Linked DNA regions of Homo sapiens: region 2 is linked to region 1. The links are contacts of gene promoters, found by promoter capture Hi-C in human tissues and cell types (Jung and others, 2019). All regions are on one chromosome and are shown on one strand. The core of a region is centred on a gene start or on the middle of the fragment in contact, and the rest is flanking DNA. Distances in the headings are between cores, read along the strand shown. Region 1 holds the start of S1PR1 (sphingosine-1-phosphate receptor 1). Region 2 overlaps CDC14A (cell division cycle 14A).

Region 1 (4,879 bases), core at 2,380-4,879:
AGGTAGTTAAAGTATAAAGTAAAAGAACGTTGAGGAGGGGTATGAAGGGAAGGGAGGGTGGGGTGTGGGATGTACAGGGCATCCCTAAAGAAGCAGAAGTGCACACACTCACTTGGGTTTGAAACTAAAGTGAAGGAAAACATCTCCTCAAAGCTCCAGACAAAGAGACGCTTTCACATGGGGACATTAGTCTTTGAGGAGGGGCCAAATGAACCCTTTAGGAGCTTGACAATGCTAGACCTTTGGCTCAGTGCAAAATCAAAGCTCCAGGGGGGTAGAAAATATATTCCAGGCCGGGACCTGATCTCCACCCTTCCCAGTGCATTGTTCACAGGAACTAACTCTACCCACCAACACCCGACACCACCAGGCTGTTCGTATTCTCCCCCTTCCTCCCTCTGGCTTGCAGCAGCTCCTCCCTGGCAGCAGTCGAAGCCCAGAGATTTTTTTCCAAACACTGGGGTGGCCAGCGACCAAGTAAAGAGCGCTTCCGGTGGGTGGACAGCTTCCAGTTCTAGGAAGAAGAGTTGACGTTTCCAGAAGACATAATGGTCTCTGGGTTGTCCCCTTCGTCTTTCTGGGGGTGGGAGGAATTGTCCGATTTGCTGCGGCTGAATTCCATGCCGGCGATGATGGGTCGCTTGAATTTGCCAGCAGAGTCTCCGCTCGGGCACTTGCAGCAGGACATGATCCGGATGAAGGCCCGACGCATCTCCTTGTTGGTCAGAGTGTAAATGATGGGGTTGGTGCCGGAGTTGAGCACAGCTAACACCAGGAAGTACTCCGCTCTGAAGAGGATGTCACAGGTCTTCACCTTGCAGCCCACATCCAGCAGGAGCAGGATGAAGAGCGGTGCCCAGCAGGCGATGAAGACGCTCAGGACGATAATTACGGTCTTGAGCAGCGCCAGCGACTTCTCAGAGCTGCGGCTGGCCTTGGAAATGTTCTTGCGGAACGTCAGGCGGCGGCTCCGAGTCCTGACCAAGGAGTAGATTCTGCAGTACAGAATGACGATGGAGAGCAGAAGCAGAGTGAAGACCGTGGTGCAGAAGAGGATATAGTGCTTGTGGTAGAGCGGCAGCACGGTGGAGCAGCTGGACAGCGCACTGATGCAGTTCCAGCCCATGATAGGCAGGCCACCCAGGATGAGGGAGATGACCCAGCAGGCGCTGATTAGCAGGAAGAGGCGGAAGTTATTGCTCCCGTTGTGGAGTTTCATTTTCAGCATTGTGATATAGCGCTCAATGGCGATGGCGAGGAGACTGAACACGGAGGCTGACAGGGCCACAAACATACTCCCTTCCCGCAGAAACCACTGGGCGGGAGTGAGCTTGTAGGTGGTGGCCCCAGACAAGAGCAGGTTAGCTGTGTAGGCTACTCCTGCCAACAGGTCTGAGAGGGCCAGATTGCCAATAAAATAGTACATGGGTCGGTGGAATTTCTTGGTTTTCCAAATGGTCAGCAAGACAAAGATGTTCTCCAGGATGATAAAGCAGCAGATGAGAATGAACACCACCGAGGTCAGTTTAATGCTGTTCTCCTTGTCCGCGCTGATATTCAGCTTTCCCGTGTAGTTGTAATGCCGGACGATGATATCATAGTTGACGTAGTCAGAGACCGAGCTGCGGTGGGCCTTGACCAGCGGGACGCTGGTGGGCCCCATGGTGCCAACCCTGTGTCCCCAGGAAGCCGGGGTGGCGCTACTCCAGACGAACGCTAGAGGGCGAGGCGAGAGAGCCTTCACTGGCTTCAGGGGTGGTTCGATGAGTGATCCAGGCTTTTTGTGTAGCTTTTCCTTGGCTGGAGAGGGCCTCGGAAACCGCAGCCTTAAACAAGTCAGAGGAGAGAGTCAGGGAAAGAGCCACAGCATACTGGCATAATTCATTCTAGCTAAGGCACTGCTCCAATTGTGTTGTTGTTGATTTGTTTTAAAGAAACTTGGGGAGAGCTCAGGGAGAGAGATTTTTTTTAAAAATCAAATTATCTTTTTTCTTCCTTTTTTTTCTTTTTTCAAAAAAGGAAGAGGGGGAAGAAAAAGAGAGGGAGAAACTCTATGGCCACATTCACTCAAAGGGAAATGGGAATTACGATGTTGGCTGTGGGTTGACAAAAAAAAAAAGATGATGAAAAGGAAAACAAGGAGTGGGAGGAATGGGAAACCTAGAGAACTACACCCCATTTTAACTCCACTCCTGCCCTCTCACCACCCCACACCCCCTCACCCCCGGATTTCCAGCCATGAGATTCTCTGAAGCAGTCACCAGCTTAGCTGCACGCTCAATACCAGCCCACGTCTCTCCTCGGAAAAGACTCAACTGCCAGTCTGAGGGCGAAGACACACACCTCTGTCCCCCATGCCCACCCCCAGCCCCCCAGTTCAAAGATACTAGCACCACCTCCTAATTGCCATGTGCCATGCAAGAAATCAGATTTGCAGGAAAATCATTTGAAAGCGTAAGCCATTTGGGGGCTCTATTAATAACTCTCTAGGAGCAGGTGTGCTTAGGGTCCGAGGGCGCAGTGAGGTGTGGGCAGCCAGGCCCGCCCCGCCTTGCTGTAAACAGGAAAGCTTAGCGCCTCCGTGAAGCGACTGCCTTTTCTTTCTTCTTCTTATTCTCCCCGCCTCCCCCCGCGCCCCCCCACCCCACCCCCCACCCCAAGCCAGGGCAAGTAAATTTAAAGGTATTCAGTTAAAACCATTCATAACAGATTGCAGCAAATCCCAGAAGTTTCGTACATTAGTTGATTGCATAAATATTTTTTGCTTTGTTTAGTTTAGCCAAAACATACACAAAAGAGAGAAATCAAACTACTCATGACAGCCATAATACATGCTACCACATTTCTAATTTCGATTGCAAAACTACTCTTCAGAAACTCACATTAAACTGCTCCCTGGTGCATTGCTAAATTTGCGTGGGCAGTTTTATTTACTGCAGTCCCCCAACACGTTGACTCCTCTCCTAGGACTAGAAAGTTACAAAGAAACTTTCTAAGACGGCACTGGTCAGCAGAAGTCTACTTCTAAGTTGCTTAAATATTTCAAGGTAATGCAGCAATGCAATAAAATGAGGTAATAGAGATGAGAACAATCCCAGCAACTCCGCGAACAGCAGAGGCTGCTCAAGCCAAGAAGCTCCGCATTTTCCCCCAACTAATTTTATACCCTGCTCCTGGGCAGTACTAATTTAAGCCATTACCCACGCTCCACACCACCCACCATATTCTTTGTCTATAGGATTTCCAAAATTTAACGCCTTCCCTCCTATTCCTCCGACCAACTGCAATTTTCACTGCCCCTACACCCGTAGGTTCCACAGTTGGGAATTAACCTTTTTTCTGAACTCCATAAATCACAAGTGCCCAAGAACAATCTGATCGAGATGGGCTCCTTAGTAGCCCAGAGATGCAAATTTTCAGCGCCCGGAGATGCATGTTTTCTAAGTTTTTGTTTGCCTCGTTCGACTTAAAAATTCGTTTCTGACACCTAAGCCCTACCACAACCGGGCTCCCCGCGCCCGCGACCCCCGCCATTCGCCGCCCCCTACCTCGCTCAAGCAGGGCGAAGTTGCGTTCGGAGAGCCCGGGATCTGTACGGCTCGCTTCGCATCTTGCTGCTGCCCCCGACTGACTGCGTAGTGCTCTCGCAAACTTACTCGAGTCGGGGTCCCCTCCCTCCGCAGCGGAGCACTCCAATGGCCAGTCCCGCTCGCCGCGGCCAGTTCCCTGCCTGCTACGCGAAGTCACCCAGCGCCGCGCCAAGGCTGGGTGGTTTCTTCAGGAAGAGGCTGGGAGGGGTTAATGCCTTAACCCCCCACGCCCTCTGTCAGCTGGGGGCCCCCGGATCTGAACTGCTGAGACGCACTGTCCAGGAAAGATCTGGGGCAGAAGCAAAAAAAAAAAAAAAAAAAAAAAAAAGAACCCCTCCTCCCCAAACAACAAATGAAAGAAAAAAAGAGAGAGAGAGAAGGGGCGGAGCCCGGTAACCCCTGGATTCTACTGTATAAATCACTGCCCTCGCCCAGATAGACGCTGATCCCTGGCTGTGGAGAGGATTCTCCCGAGCCCCTGAAAAAAAAAAAAGGTGGAGAGACTTTGAAAACTTTTCTCTCGAAAAGTCTGAGGAGGCAGAGGACGGCCCGGAGTCTCGTAGCGCACCGCCCTGGTCCCACACCCCCCGCAGCCCTAGGAGGATCGGTGTGCTGAGCTTGTGGCCAGGAGCTCCCCGAGCCACTTTCGCGCGAGCAGCAGAAAACCTGAGCCGCGGCCCGGCGAGTGTCGGCGGCGCTCTGGGGAGGAGAGGCTGGGAAGGGGCTGCGAGAGGTACGGAGGAGACAAGCAGCCCGGGAGGGAGAATGAACCGGGAGGTTCCTGTACTCCCCCCGCCACCCCAGATCCTCGTGCTACTCGCAACTGCGGTCTGAGGGGCAGTGGCTTTCCCAGAGTGCACAGAGAAATGAACCAGCGCCGGTTTTGGTGTTGGGCGAGGGGTTTCCCTCAGCTGAGCACAAAGTCAGGCTGTGTGTCCCAGATTCTGGCCAATGGAGAGGTCGTTGAGGGGGTGGGCTGCTGCTGAGTCCTGAGAGATTCAAAACGCCTGGGCAGCTCAGGAATTTCCAAAGGGGGAGATTCTCGGCCAGGAGCTGCGGAGCAACTGCAGCTGCCCAGCAGGAGCCGGCACCCTTCTCTCACATTCTGCTTGGGAGTCGACTCAGAGGCCTCAAATCTCATTACTAGCACTTTGCCCACCCTTTTCTTTTGCTTAGATGCTACTTAAGAACGTGAGGCTGAGAGGCGGACTTGGTCAGATCTGCCTGCGTGACAAGCTCAGGACAGGACGCTTCTGCCCTTGCATTACTGTTGTAAAAGTTTCCACCCA
Region 2 (5,263 bases), core at 2,705-5,204, 870 kb after region 1:
ACACTTTGAGAGGCTAAGGCAGGCCGATCGCTTGACCCCCAGGAGTTCAAGACCGGCCTGGGCAACATAGCAAAACCCCATCTCCTAAAAATTACAAAAATTAGCTGGGTGTGGTAGTGCATGCCTGTAGTCCCAGGTACTTGGGAGGCTGAGGCAGGAGAATTGCTTGAGCCCGGGAGGTCGAGGCTGCAGTGATTTCTGATGGTGCCACTACACTCCAGCCTGGGTGACAAAATGAGACCCTGTCTCCAAAAAAAAAATTTTTTTTTTTAATTAGCCAGGTGTGGTGGCATACATCTATAGTCCTAGCTACTTGGGAGGCTGAGGCAGGAGGATCACTTGAGCCCAGAAGGTCAAGGCTGCAGTTAGCCATGATTATGCCACAGCACTCCAACTTAGGTGTCTCAAAAAAAAAAAAAAATTTTTAGAAGAAAACCTAGGAAACACCATTCTAAATATCGGCCTCAGGAAAGAATTTATGACTAAGTCCTCAAAAAGCAAACATTGACAAGTGGGACCTAATTAAACTAAAGAGCTTCTGAACAGCAAAATAAACTATCAACAGAGTAAACAGACAACATACAGAAGGGGAAAAATATTCGCAAACTATGTATCTGACAAAGGTCTAATATCTAGAATCCATAGGAATTTAACAGTTGAACAAGAGAAAAATAACCCCATTAAAAAATGAGCAAAAGACATGAACAGACACTTCTCAAAAGAAGAAACACAAGCACCTAACATATGAAAAATGATCAACATCACTAATCATCAGAGAAACACCAATCAAAACCATAATGAGACACCATCTCACACCAGTCAGAATGGCTACTATTAAAAAGTCAAGGCTAGGCAGTGGCTCACGCCTGTAATTCCAGCACTTTGGGAGGCCAAGGTGGGCGGATCACGAGGTCAAGAGATCAAGACCATCCTGGCCAACATGGTGAAACCCCATCTCTACTAAAAATACAAAAATTAGCTGGGCGTGGTGGCACATGCCTGTAGTCACAGCTACCTTGGAGGCTGAGGCAGGAGAATCGCTTGAACCCAGGAGGCAGAGGCAGGAAAATTGCTTGAACCCAGGAGGCGGAGGTTGCAGTGAGCCGAGATTGCGCCACTGCACTCCAGCCTGGCGACAGAGCGAGACTCCATCTCAAAAAAAAAAAAAAAATGTCAAAAAACAACAGATTCACACTGTTGGCGGCGGGAATCTAAATTAGTCCAGCCACTGTGAAAAGCAGTTTGGAGATTTCTCAAAAAAACTTAAAACAGAACTACCATTCAACCCAGCAATCCCATTACTGGGTATATATCCAAAAGAAAATAAATCGTTCTATCTTTGCAGCAACATGGATGAAGCTGGAGGCTATTATCCTAAAAGAATTAATGCAGGAATAGAAAACCAAATACCGCATGTTCTCATTTATAAGTGGGAACTACACAATTGACTACTCACGGACAAAAAGATGGCAACAATAGACATGAAGGACTACTGAAGTGGGGAGGGAAGAAGGGAGTAAAGGGTTGCAAAACTAACTATTGGGAACTATGCTCACTACCTGGGTGACAGGATCATTTATACCCCAAACCTTAGCATCACAAAATATGCTTGTATACAAACCTGCACATATACCCCTGAATCTAAAATAAAAGTTGAAATTTTTTAAAAAAGAATTCGTCATCAAATTCCAGTTTCATACTAACCATTACAATCCAACTTCAAACTCAAATTCAAAGATGTACAATTTCTAACAATCAGATTGGCTTAGCCACATGTACTTTTGAAAGCAATATGGTTCACATATGAACCTATTTCACCAAACACCAGGAAATAAAATTGGCATACTACAATAACACAGGAGAAAGTAAATCAAATACAAACATTATCCTTAAGTTGATCTGTACTCTCCAACATGGTAGCCACTAGTCATGGCTATTTAAATTTAAATTAACTAAGGTGAAACAAATTAAAAATTCTTCAATTATTTCAAATGTGTTCAAAAGCCACACGTAGCTAATGGCTACAGAATTCAACAATGTTCTGCACTGATGGACAATACTGATCAAGATGAAAAGACATATCAAAATAACTATAAAAGATAAAAGAAATTACCAAGTACCATAAACGAAGTATAGATAAAATGTTTGAAGACAATATCCTTTCCCTACAAAGGCCCAATTATTTCCCAACAGTGAGAATAGGCCCTGGTAATTTTTATCCTGTTTTGTTCAAGAGGGTCATATTTCCAAAAAGCCAGTTGGGACTTGGAACATAAGAGAATGGAAAAATAGGTGAGGATCTAGTTCCCACCCTCCTTCACTGTCTCTCAAAAAGACAGGCTGTTTTAAGAGTAGGCTGCTATCCAAAGATAGCAACAATGAAGAAGTTATGCCTCTCTTTTGGCAAGAGCCTCAGGTTAAAGGTAGAAAAAAAATAAGCAATCCTAACCCAGAGGACTTCCCACCCCACAGTATGTTGAAGCTCAGTGGGCCAGCCTTTATATCCCACAAAAAGACGGATGAGCTTCAAGTTACACTAAAAAAATTCAGTCAAAAGTTTTGCACAACCAAGAGCAATTTTGAACAAGTCTTCAAAAGTCAGAATTGTCACAAATATAAAGCCAACAAGCTCTATCTTATCTTAAGGTCATTTGATACAATACTTACACTTGTAAGACTATTTATGTATTTAAAATAATATAGTCTTATACATATAGTTTTCTAGCTTACTATTAATAAATATATTTTTAAATGTCAAGATCATTGAAAAATTGCTGATAGTTGTTCACACCATGCTGGGTTATCACCAACTTTGGTATAATGAAATACTGTGAATAAAGAAGACATCTTCCAACAACATGCTCCTTTGTAAGAACCTTCTTCACCAGAGTTGAGGGAAAAATGAAAACATACTTATAATACATACTATTAGCTAGAGGGAAATTCAAAATAAAAATTAATTGATAATCAATGAAAATAATCAAATGTGCTAGATTTATTTGGGCAGCTTGGAACAAAAGCAGGGTGGAAGAGGAGAAATGGAAGGTCATCAACCTGGGGATAGTGAAAAGGGAGGAGATGGTAGAAATAAGTACTTCAGAGACTATTCAGAAATCTGAGGGCTGAGTGCACTCCTAAACTTGAAGTTAATGACAATGGACAGAGTCTTCTCCACTCTGGCATTTCCTAGGAAAAGGCTTCCAGAGCCACAGCCAAGCACGGGTCCCCACTTTGTCTTGGCAGAGGGGAGTAGTCTTTTGGTCTCATGTGGCCAGGGAAAAACACGGACATTTTATTATTTCAGAGTACCCGTGCGTTCATCTCCAAATGAATTAACAAATGAACGAATGATTCTCTCCACCTATTTGCAGATTTCTTCTAAGAAGATTGGCAAATTATGGGTCAATGCCTACAATGAAACTCATGAACTATTAAGGGAAAATCGGTCCATCCATCTTTTTATTCAGTAAGTGTAAATAGCTAAAATCAAACCCTTTTCTGTTTTGACAGGAAAGAAACTAAAAGAATTGGAGCATTTGGAGTCCTGCAAGTGGAGGAGGAAGGAGGTTCATCTCCTTACCAGGAGAACAAAGAAACAGGAGCCCAAGGATCAGAGCAAACATTCACAAGGGTAGGATCACCCACCACCCCACAGGTGCAGGTCCTACAAATTTGAAGGGACATAGAAGCTGGGCCTAAAAGCCTTGCTGTCATACTCAACATGTGCAGCTCTTCTCACAGATTTATGAAGTTTATGATGTACCATTATTTTGTCTTCGGTTTTTCTAATAAACTATAATTTAAGTGAGTCAATTCCCAGAGGAATCATTGTTTGAAGTATTGTTATACCTTATTCTACACATTAGAAGCTTCATGTGAAAATTCCCAACACCTCAGCAAAAAGATAAGCTACATTCCAAGAAGTACTCATTCATTCAACAAAATTTATGACTACCTATTCTGAGCAAGGCATTACTAGTTAGCATATTCATCACAGAGTACTTGCAATACAAAAAAAATTAACTGCTTTAAAAACAGGATGAATAAATTCTATAAGATCGTTATAAGGCATGCCAACCTTTCAATGTTTTACCAGCACTGCTGACGTTTTTTGTCTCTTCATTCACTTGCTCACTCAAATAGTTACTAAAAGCCTATTGGTCACCAGTCCCTACCCACAAGGAGCTCACTATCTACTGAGAAGACAGGTAAAGACATTATTACAATGTGATAAATGCTAAAATAGCAGTATCCTCCAAAACACAATGAGACCGTGTGTGTGTGTGTGTGTGTGTGTGTGTGTGTGTGTAAAATTTTGTTGAAATTGATCAGCAATGCCTCTGGGCCACACATTACCTAACAGTTTCCCTATCACTAGAATACTATCCGCACCCCTCCAGTCAGATGATAAAGTTTCTGTATGAGACGTGATTATTATGGCTGAACTCATAATGATCACATTTTAAAAAGGTCCTAACTGCATAACAAATACCAACCTCAGATGAGGGCACTAGTCTGAGTTTTTGCTCAAGCCCTTTAGCATAACCACCCACAGTCACACTGATGCCAACTTCTTGGGGAAGAGTTGCTGCACATCTAACAAGCTTCCCACACACACAGCAGTCTGATGCAGAACTAAAGATCACTGGGTGCCAAAAGGTTCCAGTCCCAATTTGGTCACTCAGTGTCCCTAATCTGGTGTCGTAGCCTCTCTGGGACTCCACGTCCTCATCTATCAAATGAAGCCACTGAATTAGATGGCTCCTAAAGTTCTTTCCAGCTCTTATGTAATATCATATATCACAGTTCTAGCCGCTATATAGACTCTACAGAGTCTATGACTCTAGTTATCCTTATTGGACAAACCCATTCAACTGTTCAAATGTTTCTCAAGGTCTACTTGCCCTATTTGATGTTCTCTGTTCTGTCTGTCCTCTCAGTGCATTGGGTCTGGGTACAGAAAACATTTCCCTCAGAGTGTCTCCTCTTTGAGGAAGGAAAAGAACACAACTTTTTCCATGAAATTCACTGTTTTCTGCACAGCCAGAAAGCAAACCCACAGACTACAAAGCAGCTACATGTATTAGGAAACTTATCATCTTTATTACTTACTTGTCTGCAAAAAGTCTGACATTTGTTGAGATCATAAAGGAAGGAGAGAACCCCAATATCAACTATCAATCCTGTCCCTTGATGCATTGTCTAGATTTCTAAGAAAGTTCAGGTTTACAACACCAGAGGGTGAGGAACCATTCTCCACTTA

The links. Contacts are between HindIII fragments. The study calls those that stand out against the background at their distance.
Region 2: a fragment that was not itself captured here is called in contact with the fragment with the promoter of S1PR1 in region 1 in 1 of the 25 tissues and cell types used here (lymphoblastoid cells).

What each region holds. Positions count from the first base shown.
Region 1 is chr1:101,235,769-101,240,647 of GRCh38, reverse strand. S1PR1 (sphingosine-1-phosphate receptor 1) reads right to left here and starts at 3,629. Exons shown (of 2, transcript NM_001400.5): 1 at 3,549-3,629; 2 at 1-1,826. The coding sequence starts at 1,663. The coding sequence ends at 515. It overlaps S1PR1-DT (S1PR1 divergent transcript), which reads left to right and starts at 4,120. Exons shown (of 2, transcript NR_104626.1): 1 at 4,120-4,323; 2 at 4,767-4,879. RefSeq lists enhancers at 1,767-1,816, 4,450-4,539. The HindIII fragment of the contact is 36,645 bases long and covers 1-4,879 here.
Region 2 is chr1:100,364,988-100,370,250 of GRCh38, reverse strand. The region is part of intron 2 of CDC14A (cell division cycle 14A); the gene reads right to left. Among named protein-coding and RNA genes, the nearest start is that of CDC14A, 15 kb to the right of the region's middle. The HindIII fragment of the contact is 5,317 bases long and covers 1,296-5,263 here.